Regions from separate parts of the Homo sapiens genome. Here regions 1, 2 and 4 are each linked to region 3. Evidence: promoter capture Hi-C in 16 types of primary human blood cells and fetal thymus (Javierre and others, 2016). All regions are on one chromosome and are shown on one strand. The core of a region is centred on a gene start or on the middle of the fragment in contact, and the rest is flanking DNA. Distances in the headings are between cores, read along the strand shown. Region 1 holds the start of NKX2-2 (NK2 homeobox 2). Region 2 has its middle 16 kb from the start of NKX2-2. Region 3 holds the start of XRN2 (5'-3' exoribonuclease 2). Region 4 has its middle 9.1 kb from the start of BETALINC1.

Region 1 (2,924 bases), core at 323-2,822, 210 kb before region 3:
CATCAGGTAGCCAATCTACACCCCTGCACCCCCCCCCCAAAAAAGTTTTAACTAGAAGAAGGGGTGGCAAATGCGGCGTGGTCTTTTCCAACCCCAGCGCCGAGGAGGAAGTGCAAGTCCCGGGAAAGTTCAGTTCCCAGAGCCGAGAGTGGCTGGAAACTTCACACTAACCTGACTTAACCTGGAAACGTGGAGCGCGTACTCCGAACGCACCCAAGGCGTCCAAAAAGAGACCACACTAAAGAACTCGCGTGGGAGAAGAAAACTGGGGAGAAAACGAGGCATCGTCGGGCCACCCAGCGACCCCCCTCCCCCGCAGCTTTCTGGGTCTTCACCCAGGCTGGAGACACAACCCCCACCCCCACCCCCGCAATCCCGCCCCGCCGCCTTCCCGCTGCTCCACCTCTAGCCAGAGGCTGGAGAGGGAGGGGGCCGGAGAGGGAGGGATAATAGAGGGCAGGAAAGAGCAGGGCCGTCTGCCCTTTCCTCCACCCGGGGAAAGAGGCCCGCAGAGCCCAGAGGCAGCAGGGCCAGGGTCCGACCCCAGACGAAGTTGGAGCTCCTCACTCTTACCCCGCCCTCCCCGGGACCGCCCGCAAAGCAGAAAGTGAACTGCGCGTCCTCCTTGGCCGCAGAGAGGTGGAGGCGGGGGGTTGGGGGTGGGAGGTGGGGGGAGGCGGAGTGAAGGAAATAAATGAGTCTTTAGCAAATAAAGGGCGGCTGGAAGGGGGCGGGTCGCTTGGTGGTGGCTCTGGCCGGCCCGGAGCGGAGCTCTCTCCTGGGTTTTGGGCTCTCTCGCGGTTAACTGGAATCAATTACTTGCCTTGTCATTTCTAGCACTCATCCTTAAGCCTCAACCAAAATATTGACCTAGGAGGCTTACAGAAGTTGGGCTCTTGCCATTTGAACCGGATCTTGTTTAGGCAACCACCAACGATGGAAAGGAGAGATTTCCGCAGCTCGGCCTTCGCCCCCTCCCCCTTTTCCAAAGGCGCCACAAATCGCCAATTTTCCGGCTTGCCGGGGGTGGGCGCGCGGGGGCGGGGAGGTAGGAACCGGTGAATGTTAAAGAGGATTTTTTCCCTCCTCCTGGTTTCTGTTTTGTTTTCTCCCCTCCTCCTCCCCACCCCCACCTTTTTTAAGATGCAATTTGTTAAAACGGCCCTTTCAAGTGTGTGGACTCGCGAGCGACGCGGTGGCCCTTTGTATGTAAATACTGGGTTTAAAAAAAAAAAGGCTCGCCCCGTCTTTGCAATTAATTGACACGTTACACCTCTCATCTTGCTCTAGAGGGCCGTTGGCTGGGAGCGCGGAGCTCCCCAAAACCCACAATTTCACATCTGCAAATACTGTCTTCATCCACTTGACTCCCAAGACCCGCCCACACGTGGCCAACCTTTGCGTTTTTAATGTCTCTTCCCCCTTTTTTCCACCCTTCTCCCGCTCCCTCTCTCGCTCCCCCTCCCTCCCTCTTTCTTTCCCTCCCTCCCTCTCTTTCTCCCCCTCTCCCCGCCTCCCCAGGTTCGTGAGTGGAGCCCAGCCTTATATGGACTGATCGCTCGGGCAATGGCCCATTTTTTCCTCGCCACCAGCCGCCACCGCGCGCCGAGCGGCCGCCGGAGCCCGAGCTGACGCCGCCTTGGCACCCCTCCTGGAGTTAGAAACTAAGGCCGGGGCCCGCGGCGCTCGGCGCGCAGGCCGCCCGGCTTCCTGCGTCCATTTCCGCGTGCTTTCAAAGAAGACAGAGAGAGGCACTGGGTTGGGCTTCATTTTTTTCCTCCCCATCCCCAGTTTCTTTCTCTTTTTAAAAATAATAATTATCCCAATAATTAAAGCCAATTCCCCCCTCCCCTCCCCCAGTCCCTCCCCCCAACTCCCCCCTCCCCCGCCCGCCGGGGCAGGGGAGCGCCACGAATTGACCAAGTGAAGCTACAACTTTGCGACATAAATTTTGGGGTCTCGAACCATGTCGCTGACCAACACAAAGACGGGGTTTTCGGTCAAGGACATCTTAGACCTGCCGGACACCAACGATGAGGAGGGCTCTGTGGCCGAAGGTCCGGAGGAAGAGAACGAGGGGCCCGAGCCAGCCAAGAGGGCCGGGCCGCTGGGGCAGGGCGCCCTGGACGCGGTGCAGAGCCTGCCCCTGAAGAACCCCTTCTACGACAGCAGCGACAACCCGTACACGCGCTGGCTGGCCAGCACCGAGGGCCTTCAGTACTCCCGTAAGTAGCAAAACTTGGCTGCCGAGGCCGTGGTCCCCTCCATTCCTGCAGCCGCAGCCCGGGTTGGACGCTGGGAGTGAAAGGGGAAGGGGCCATGTAAGCCCGGACCCCCTCACTCGGATCCGTAGAAAGATTTTTAACACCTGTATAGGATGTCCTCTGCCCTCCTCTTCAAGCCTCCTTAGTTCCGGGAAAGAACTTGGTCTCCAAAATTTTTTTCAATGCGAGAAGTTAAGGAGAAAGAGGGAGAAGGGCTATACCTCCCAGGGGCTGGTATATGATGTCAACCCGGACCGATGGCTCCAGCCGCAGCCCCCGGACTCCGGCCGCTGGGAGGGACTGGCCTGGCGCCCTGGAGGTAGCCAGCGAGCCTCGTCCGGGTACGGGTGGAGGGTGGGGAGGCTTCGGGTGGCCCGGGTATAAATAGCTCACCCTGCCCCCTGCGCGATCATAGAGGACGCTTTGTGCAGTGCAGGGGGTGTCTAGAAGGCCCGAAAGCAGAAACGAAAGCCCCCAAAAACCTGCCTTAAATGGCCGAGCCGATCAATGCTGGGATTGTGGGGTATTTCTTTTAAAAATCTGCCCACGTCTCGCCGGAGAGGAAACCGCTTAAGGGCGCCGGAGCCCTTAACCCGCGATGATCTTCAGTGCCACTTCCCCCCCCAAATTCTCACCCACACTATGTGAGCCCCTTGAAAG
Region 2 (3,047 bases), core at 184-2,683, 190 kb before region 3:
TTCCTTACTATGTATCTGGCTGGAATTGGGGTGGGGGGAAGCAAAGAGAGTGGCTGAGCAGTAAGAAATGGCCATTACTGCTCAGCTGGAGGGAAGAATGGTGCCACCTTCCAGAGGTTCTTAACACTTTGTGTCCCACAGGCCCCTTTGCCAGGCTGAAGACTCCTATAGAACCCTTCTCAGAAGAATGAGTTTAGGTTATAAAGTAAATTAGATTAAGAGGTAATTCTACCCCTTGGGGATGAGGGACTGCAGATTAAGGACTCTTATCCTGCAAAGGGTGACAGAGTCCCTTTGCTCCGGCACCTCTGCCCCTCCCCCACCAGCTGCCCTTTGTGCCAACCCCGGGTGAGTCAAGGAAAGGAAAGGACCAGCCAGGACTTCCCCCTCCCCTGGGAGGGTGCCATGGAAGGCAGAGGACTGCTCTCTGTGTCAGAGCCCCTGCGGTCACCATGGGCTACAACACGGTGAGACAACAGAAGGAACAGTATTGAAGGGCAGCTCTGCCCTGAGGTAGAATTTTGGTCTTAATGGACATGTAGGCTGGGTGAGGGGCTGAGATGTGCTGCAGCATTTGCTCTTATGTTAACCCTTCCCCACTCCCATCTCCTTTCTGTGAACATAATGGCATTTCATAAAATTAGGCATGCTATCTATCAGCAAAAGGTGAAAATTTAACAGGGCAAATTGAAATAACCACTCTTGATGCAAACACCCTTTTAAACTTTATCACCCTGATCCTATGCAATTAGACAAAGGAATTATGAACACCGCTGTCCAGCGCCTTCCCCAGACTCCCTGGGTGAAATGAAAGAGGTTCTAGTGGAGACTTGGTGGGCCAGGGCGGAGAGGCTGCCTGTGCAGGGGCTGCTGAAACAATGACCGAAGCTGGGTTAATTAATCAAATGAGGAGGCGGATGAAAATCCGTGTTGCAGCAGTAACCCAGAGGGTTCACATGCAGAGGCCACAACATAAACAAGGCAATCCACACTTGTCTGAATCCTTACTGTTAATGAATATAAAGTTGGAGGATCATGTTCTGATTTGAGTTCAACTATGTGGCTGAAAAGTACGAGAAGACAATACTGAATGCTTTAATAAAAATCCCCAAAAAAAAAAACTGGTAATATTATATTCAACAGGAAGTTATCCACTCTTATATGATTTTTTCTTTTTGTTTCCCCAACATTTATAATATATACATTTATGCCACAATATAGCCTTCACGAATTCTGATAAGGCTGGTCTTAAAAGCAAATGTATTTCTTTCAACATTCTAATACCCCATCAATTTAAAATGTTCTTCAGATTTTACAAGACATGAAAGTTATTCAAATAGAATTTGGATGAATATTTTAATGACCGTTTAGTAATAGAATGAAGCTGTTCATGGTTGTGGCATGTACTAAAAACATACTTTTACATTTAATATCGACATTTTAGAGCTTTCTGCTGAAAATTTCAATAAAGTCTGTGTCTAAAACGTATTATGGGCCATTGCCTCTTCATAAAATTGACACAATATGCTATACCATTTTGTACACAATGAAACTCTTAATAAGCATTAAAACTATGTGTCCTTTCTGAGTTAAATAAACAATTTAAATGCAGTGTGAATAACCACCAGAATTAAAAGCAGTCTCTGCGGAGTAGGTCGAGGCGATTTAAACTGCCCATTTTGTGCCTCCTACATTGTTTGAATGTATATTTCTACATGCATAATTCCAGCAATAATAACAAGAATAGCTAAAAATATGTATCTTTTCAAACACAATTAATCACAAAAATAAAAGGCAGTAATTTGAGACATAAAATTCTGAAACTATTCCAGATGACTTTTTAATATGAACAAAAATTCCTGCCTTTTATACCAGACTTCAGAAAATAAAGGACATTACTAACTAAAACCTACCCATCTTTTAAAAATTGGATTACTTGGCCAGGCACAGTGTCTCATGCCTGTAATCCCAGCATTTTGGGAGGCCGAGGCAGGCGGATCTCCTGAGGTCAGGAGTTCCAGACCAGCCTGACCAACATAGTGAAGCCCTGTCTCTACTAAAAATACAAAAATTAGCCAGATGTGGCGGCTCATGTCTGTAATCCCAGCTACTCGGGAGGCTGAGGCAGGAGAATTGCTTGAACCCGGGAGATGGAGGTTGCAATGTGCCGAGATCATGCCACTGCATTCCAGCCTGGGTGACAGAGCAAGACTCCCTCTCAAAAAAAAAAAAAAAAAAAAAAAAAAAAAAAAAAAAAAAAAAAAAAAAAGGGTTATTTATTCTTAATAATTCCAGACTCACTAAGGACCGCCCAATAATTGATTATATTCTTGAAAAATTGTAGTTTGCACTATTTCGGTGAAATTTAAGGAGACTGGCCCTTTTTTCTTCTTTTACTGCGTATCATTGTTTTCCCCCCAACACGAGGAAGTGGTCCCCAGCTTACTCAAAGCAAAACAGTGCCCCTTCTCCCTCTCCACTGGCTGCCCTCTTGGTCTTTCCTGATACATTAGCAGTACAGCCTTATCTTCAGGCTCACAAGCTGACAAAATATTTCAAGGATGTCTGCATTCAGAGTGCTGATTCACTTCTTCCCCTGCCCATTCTCCCAACAAGTCCAGGCAAAGCACTGGGCTGCAAAGCACTGAGTACAGCACCTGTCTGTTGTGGGTGTTTAGTACAAAGTCATCTCCCTCATTATCTTCCTATTACTACCATTATGATTATTTGAATGTGAAGTAATGGTTTAAAGTCCCAGCCAGCTGGGCGCAGTGGCTCACGTCTGTAAATCGCAGCACTCTGGGAGGCCGAGGCGGGTGGATCACCTAAGGTCAGAAGTTCGAGACCAGCCTGGCCAACATGGTGAAACCCCGTCTCTACTAAAAATACAAAAATTAGCTGGGCATGGTGGCACGCACCTGTAATCCCAGCTACTCCATGAGAGTCACTTGAACCTGGCAGACAGAGGTTGCAGTGAGCTGAGATCGCACCACTACACACCAGCCTAGGCAACAGAGGGAGACTCCGTCTCAAAAAATAATAATGAT
Region 3 (2,963 bases), core at 1-2,500:
GTTAAAGGTGGAGAAATGGGATGAGAAGGGGTAGAGCAAGAACTGTTGCTTTTTGTTTAACCCACGTGCAAGTAAAGTTCAATAAAGTTCGATTAAAATTTTACAAAGGAAACAAGTATTCAATTTAGCAGTTGCTTTTTGAAAAAAACAAGAAATAGTGGGAATGTCACTAAGACAAGGCTTTTGGTTCCTCCTTGGATAGAAGCCAAGAAAGTTAAAAAAAAAAAAAAAAGCAGAAATAAGTTCACAGTGACAGGCAAGCACTGCCTTCAAAAACTAAGGAGTGAGGTACGCGTGATGTGCCTCTGAACGTTTCCAATCCAGAAATTCTAATTAAGAGCACAAAATCGAATCCGCATGGAATGACGAAAACAATAAAAACAAAACTCAATAATGGCCAAAAATCTACTTACGTATTAACTAACAACAAAAATTGTACTGCTCAAGTACATCCAGTAATCTTGAAATTTTCAACAAGCACCCACCCCGTTCAGTAGTCAGGGCACACAGAGAAGGGTAACTTCTCAGAATTCTATAGCGCTCATCCTGGACCTGACATACTGCTTTCAGCGTCCAATCTAACCAGAACAACAAATGGTCCTGAACACTAGGAGAAAACCTTTCCGGCACAATTGGTAAACAACGAAAAGGTCGCCGCCAGGGATTCCTTTACAAGGTTGTCAAAAAGCTGGCCTCCGAATCCGTGCATCCATAACCCGCTAGCTCAGCTGACCTGGCATGCATTGCTCAACAACAGCCTCTGAACCTCTTCCGAGACCCAAAATGCGCGGTCTGGAGAGGAAACAAAGCAGTGGGCGGGGCCTTCCGGTGCCGGGAAAAAGCGAGTAGGGGAGGAGCGACCCTCCTGCGAGTTCGGAACCCTATAGGCCCTTGCCCCGCCGAGGGTCCTGAATTCCTCGCCCCCGGGGTGCTGAATCCCACAGCCCGCGTCCCATCGCGTGTGGGGCTGCGACTGCTCGCGAGGCTGGCAGCAGGGCGCGAGCTCCGGCAAGGCTCCCCGGGGGCAGGCGGCGGAGCCCATGGGCCGCGGCCTAGACGTGCCGGGGGCCCGGGCTCGAGTGTGGCGGCCGCCTGGCGCCTCCTCACCTTCTCTTCCACGCAGTTGACTATGATGGACGGGTACTTGCGGCTGAGCCAGCGGAAGAACGCCGGGACTCCCATAGCGGCACACGGCTGGAGGCGGCGGCCGACCGGCTGACGAGCGTAACCAAAGAGACGGGAGCAGCGGCAGAGGGCACCAGCACTTCCTCCCACGTGCGCGCTGGAGAACGGAAGTGACGTCACGGCGCCGCCGCCGGGGAAGCTGGGAAGGAGGCTTCGCTGGATGAGGGAGCGGCGGAAAAGGGCCTTGCCGGGCTGTTTGTGGGAGGCGGAGTCCGGCGGCGGACCGGGTGGCGAAGGCTGCAGCTCGCCCTCGGTGGTCCCAGCCCCGGAGCGCGAGGCCGAGCGCGTCTGAGTTGCGGGGGCTCACGGGCGACTGCTCTGCCGGGGCTCCGCCGGGATCTCCCAGCCCCAGCCCTCCGGCTCCCTGGGCACAGAATCGCTGCGCTCTGCATGCCCGGGAGGAGGTCTCCCTTGCCCGTTTGGTCACCTCTTGTTTGGAAGAAAATGTCTTTTTTTGCCTCTATGCTCACCCGTCTCAATCTAGGGTAGAATCGAAGCATCCAAACTTACTCGTTACTTCCATTTCCTGGTTTCTCCTAGTTTTGTGCTGCAGTACGTACCTGGACTATCAAAAGGAGCATTTTAAAGCATTTTACAGTAATAATGGCTGCTTTGCACCAATAATTTGATTGTTATGCAAATAAATAATTATGATAGTTACCGAATGGAATCTAGCCGGTATTTAGCATCCAATACAATCTTCCAGCTACAATTACGGGTATAAAATAGTTGCTAATATGATTTTCCAGCATTTACTGAGCCTTTACAGTGTACCAAGACATTGACTAAGGGATTGTCCTATGTAATCTTCACTTGAACCTTGTGAGGGTACTGTTAGCACCCTCGTGTAAATGATAAGAAAGCCAAGTTACAGAGGAGTTAAGTCACTTATGCACATAGCTTCTGTTTCAGTTCAAGCAAAGGTCATTTTTAATCCATCCTTGTTCTAACACGATACTTTTATCTTTTGTTTTCTGGTGGTCCCAAACGAATTTTTTCCATATGAAAGGAGAGGTCTGGAAGAGGAGGTATATTTGTCCGTTTGCTCAAGCCTGGAAGTCTCCCTGAATCCCCTCTTGGTTTGACACACATCACACACGATGCTAAATGCTCACCTCATGAGGCCTCTGTGAAAGTATTTCGCCGAGTTACCTCACAGGCAGTATTTATTGCCCCCTCCTCTGTGGTCTGATGACTACTTTGTTTAAACTACTAGTGTGGAAATTAGAGAAATAGTCATCCCGTGTTTTACTTAAGGATAGCCAAAACTATTCCAAAGTATTATGTCTATGGTGAAATTCCTCCTTTTACCTGGAAGCAGCCCCTCTGGTTTCCCTGGGAGGTGCTGTTATAGGAACATGTACACCATAGGCAGTTCAGGGATAGACAGCTGGCCAAGTTGAGCCATTTAGAATCCTTAACCAGCATTTTGGCGGGTTGGGAGGGTTTATTGTTTTGTTTTTGTTTTTTCAGACGGAGTCTCAGTCATCCAGGCTGGAGTGCAGTGGCAAGATCCAGGCTCACTGCAACCTCCACCTCCCGGGTTCAAGCGATTCTCCTGCCTCAGCCTCCCGAGTAGCTGGGATTAGAGGCGCCTGCCATGACACCCCGCTGATTTTTGTGTTTTTAGTTGAGACAGGGTTTCACCATGTTGGCCAGGCTGGTCTCGAACTCCTAACCTCAGGTGATCTGCCCACCTCGGCCTTCCAGAGTGCTGGGATTACAGGTGTGAGCCACTGCACCCAGCCTTACCAGCATTTTTGAGCTTTGAACCATAA
Region 4 (3,179 bases), core at 257-2,756, 240 kb before region 3:
GAGTTGCTCCCCTCTGTCTGGCAGGTATGCACTGGACATTTTCTCTTGGACACTGCCTTGAGTCCTGTGGAGATTCCCGCAGCCACTCTCTCCTGCACATCCCTCGGCTAAGGCAAGCATAACTCTATGCTAGGCAGACACTTGAATTGTCCCCGCAGGACCCTGGGATCCAGAGGCAAAGTTCGGTGGATTTTGCATACAGCTAATGAAGCTTAGGCCTGAAGGGCCCCCCGCATATCGAGCATTACAATTTATTAAGTGACTTTGAGCAACTCTTGAGATTCCAGTATAATTTTTCTTCATTGCTTTATTAATAGATTGAACTACATGAGTGGGTTTTGCACAACTCTCCATAACAATGTGTTTTTAAATTAAACCACTGATAGTTTATCTACATCACTGATTATTTCAAAGAACCAGTGCTTGGGTTTTTTCTTTAGCATGATTGTTTTTCTGTTTACAAATACACTTATTTCTGATTTTTTATCTACTTTAATCCCACCCTTCTGCTTTATTTAGATGTTTTGTTGATCGTTTTCTTAACTTCTTGAATAGAATACCCTTTATTTTCATTATTTCTTGTTTAATAATGAAACTGTTTACTTTCTTTCTGAAATTTATGGAAGTTTTGTTGTAGCTTAAAATGTGGTCCCTTTTTTGTGACTCTGACATGGGTGTCTGAATAAAAGTGTAGAGATTTCAACATAGATGCATGATGTGGCTGGTCTGTCATATGTAAAATTGATCTGTCTTATTACTTATCAATATTTTTACTTTTTATTTTGAAGAAATTCAAAACTACAGGAAAATTATAAGAATAATGTCAATGAACCGCCATATATGCTTCACCAGCTACTCACACTTTGCCATTTGTATGTGTGTACAGGTGTGTATGTGTATACATGTATGTGCGCATGTATGTATGTGAATGTGTATGTATGGATATGTGTATTGTGTACATGTGTATATGCAGATGAGTATATGTGGATGTATATGGATGTGAATGTATGGGTGTGTATATGTACACATGTGGATGCCTGCATACATATATGTATGTGAATGCATGTATGTGGATGTGTGTGGATGGATGTGTGTATGTATGTATGTGAATATGTGGATGTGTACACGTGTGGATGTGGATATGTGCTGTGTGCACGTATGTGTATATGTATGTGAATGTGTGTATGCATATATGTAGATGTATGTGAATGTGTATATGTGTATATGTGGATGTGTGTATATGTAGAGGTGTATATGTGGAGGTGTGTGTGTGTGTGGATGTGAATATGTGTATGTGGATGTGCACGTGTGTGGATGTCTATGTGTGGATATGTGGATTGTGTGTATATATATGTATGTGAATGTGTGTATGTGTATATGTAGATGTGTGTGGATGTGTATATGTCTGTGTGTGTGTGTGAACCATTTGAGAGTAAGTTGCAGATATAATGACCCTTCACCCCCAGATTCTCTACCATGTGTCTCCTAAGAACAAGAACCATCTCTGTAAACCAAAGAGCAAATATTTAATTCAGGAAATTGAATACTGATACAATGCCATTATATAATATCAAATATATTTAATATTATCTTTATTCACATTTCACCAGTTTTCCCAATATTCTCCTCCAAAGCAATATTTTTTCAATCCATATTCCAATCCAGGATACTTATTTTTTTGTTCCCCTTAACCTGTATGATTGAGAGAGATTTGGCAGACTTGTGTTGTGCACATTTCTCTTCGTGTTTTTTGCTTGCTGTCTGTACTTTGATGCTACATCCATGTATATGCACTGGGGCACTGTGTTTGGTAAGGAGATGTCATCCATTCAAGGATGCGTCCTTCCACTATAAGGACTTTGCTGGAGATGAGGACAGTTCTTCAGCTCACCCCTCCTAGATTTTCATGCTGAGTAGACGGGCTTGGAGAGCTTGCGCTGAAGCAGCTGAGAACCACCACATTTTCCCTAGAGGACGCCATTTAAGATCAAGAGGATCCCTGCATCTAAAACTCAGTTTCTGGGGCAAAAAGGACTTCTGAAGATAAACTCTTATTGAGATATTTCCTGCTCAGTAAGGAAAAAAAAAGGCTGAGTGCCGTGGCTCATGCCTGTAATTCTAGACTTTGGGAGGTTGAGGTGGGAGGATCACTTGAGGCCAGGAGTTTGAGAACAGCCTGAGCAACATAGCAAGACCCCATCTCTTAAGAAAAAAAAAAAAGAATAAAATGGGTAATTAAAAAAGGATAAAAAAGAAAATTAAGCCAGTCGCGGTGGCTCACGCCTGTAATCCCGGCACTTTGGGAAGCTGAGGCGGGCAGATCACGAGGTCAGGAGATCGAGACCATCCCGGCTAACACGGTGAAACCCCGTCTCTACTAAAAATACAAAAAATTAGCCGGGCGTGGTGACGGGTGCCTGTAGTCCCAGCTACTCCGGAGGCTGAGGCAGAAGAATGGCGTGAACCTGGGAGGCGGAGCTTGCAGTGAGCCGAGATTGCGCCACTGCACTCCAGCCTGGGCGACAGAGCAAGACTCTGTTTCAAAAAAAAAAGAAAAGAAAATTAAAATAGGATAAACCAAACAGAAACAAATGAATCTAATATTACTTCAGATGAGTAACATATCCATACTGGAGAAAAGAAAAAAATGTTTAATTAATTAAAAAAACCTATTCCAAGTAATTTTGAATGCAGTACTCTATTTCTCCTCAGTTTAAAACCAAAAAGAACTAAATAGATATTGAACTTCAATTAGAATGTTTGTTTATCTCAACGGTATGTGTTTGCAACACTGAAGCTTTTTCTATATTATGTGGGATTGAGCAAATGAATAAATAATCAGAGCCAGGTTTCCCACCATTAAAAAAGGGAATTAGAAATAGTGAATTTGGCCAGGCATGGTGGTGTGTACCTGTGGTCCCAGCTACTCAGGAGGCTGGGGTGGGAGGTCACTTAAGCTCAGGAGGTCCAGGTTGCTGTGAGCTATGATTGCACCAGTGTACTCCAGCCTGGGTGACAGAGTAAGACCCTTCCTCAAACAAAATAAGAGAGAGAGAGAGAGAGAGAGAGAAAGAAAGAAAGAAAGAAAGAAAGAAAGAAAGAGAGAAAAGAAAAAGAAAGAGAGATAGAGAAAGGAAGAAAAGAAAGAAAGAAAGAGAGAGAGAAAGAAAGAAAGAGAA

What was found. Contacts are between HindIII fragments. The CHiCAGO score rates a contact against its expected background, and 5 or more counts as called.
Region 1: the fragment with the promoter of NKX2-2 here is called in contact with the fragment with the promoter of XRN2 in region 3 in 5 of 17 cell types (naive CD4 T cells, megakaryocytes, activated CD4 T cells and 2 more); the score reaches 7.0 in naive CD4 T cells.
Region 2: a fragment that was not itself captured here is called in contact with the fragment with the promoter of XRN2 in region 3 in 1 of 17 cell types (naive CD8 T cells); the score reaches 5.8 in naive CD8 T cells.
Region 4: a contact is called between a fragment that was not itself captured here and the fragment with the promoter of XRN2 in region 3, in 2 of 17 cell types (naive CD4 T cells and activated CD4 T cells). The highest score is 6.9, in naive CD4 T cells.

The regions. Positions count from the first base shown.
Region 1 is chr20:21,512,712-21,515,635 of GRCh38, reverse strand. It overlaps NKX2-2 (NK2 homeobox 2), which reads left to right and starts at 1,572. Exons shown (of 2, transcript NM_002509.4): 1 at 1,572-2,225. The coding sequence starts at 1,967. The HindIII fragment of the contact is 7,883 bases long and covers 1-2,924 here.
Region 2 is chr20:21,496,202-21,499,248 of GRCh38, reverse strand. No RefSeq gene overlaps it. Among named protein-coding and RNA genes, the nearest start is that of NKX2-2, 16 kb to the left of the region's middle. The HindIII fragment of the contact is 5,766 bases long and covers 1-3,047 here.
Region 3 is chr20:21,301,618-21,304,580 of GRCh38, reverse strand. It overlaps XRN2 (5'-3' exoribonuclease 2), which reads right to left and starts at 1,250. Exons shown (of 30, transcript NM_012255.5): 1 at 1,108-1,250. The coding sequence starts at 1,182. RefSeq lists an enhancer at 653-702 and a silencer at 1,423-1,552. The HindIII fragment of the contact is 6,284 bases long and covers 1-2,963 here.
Region 4 is chr20:21,537,630-21,540,808 of GRCh38, reverse strand. No RefSeq gene overlaps it. Among named protein-coding and RNA genes, the nearest start is that of BETALINC1, 9.1 kb to the right of the region's middle. The HindIII fragment of the contact is 2,586 bases long and covers 214-2,799 here.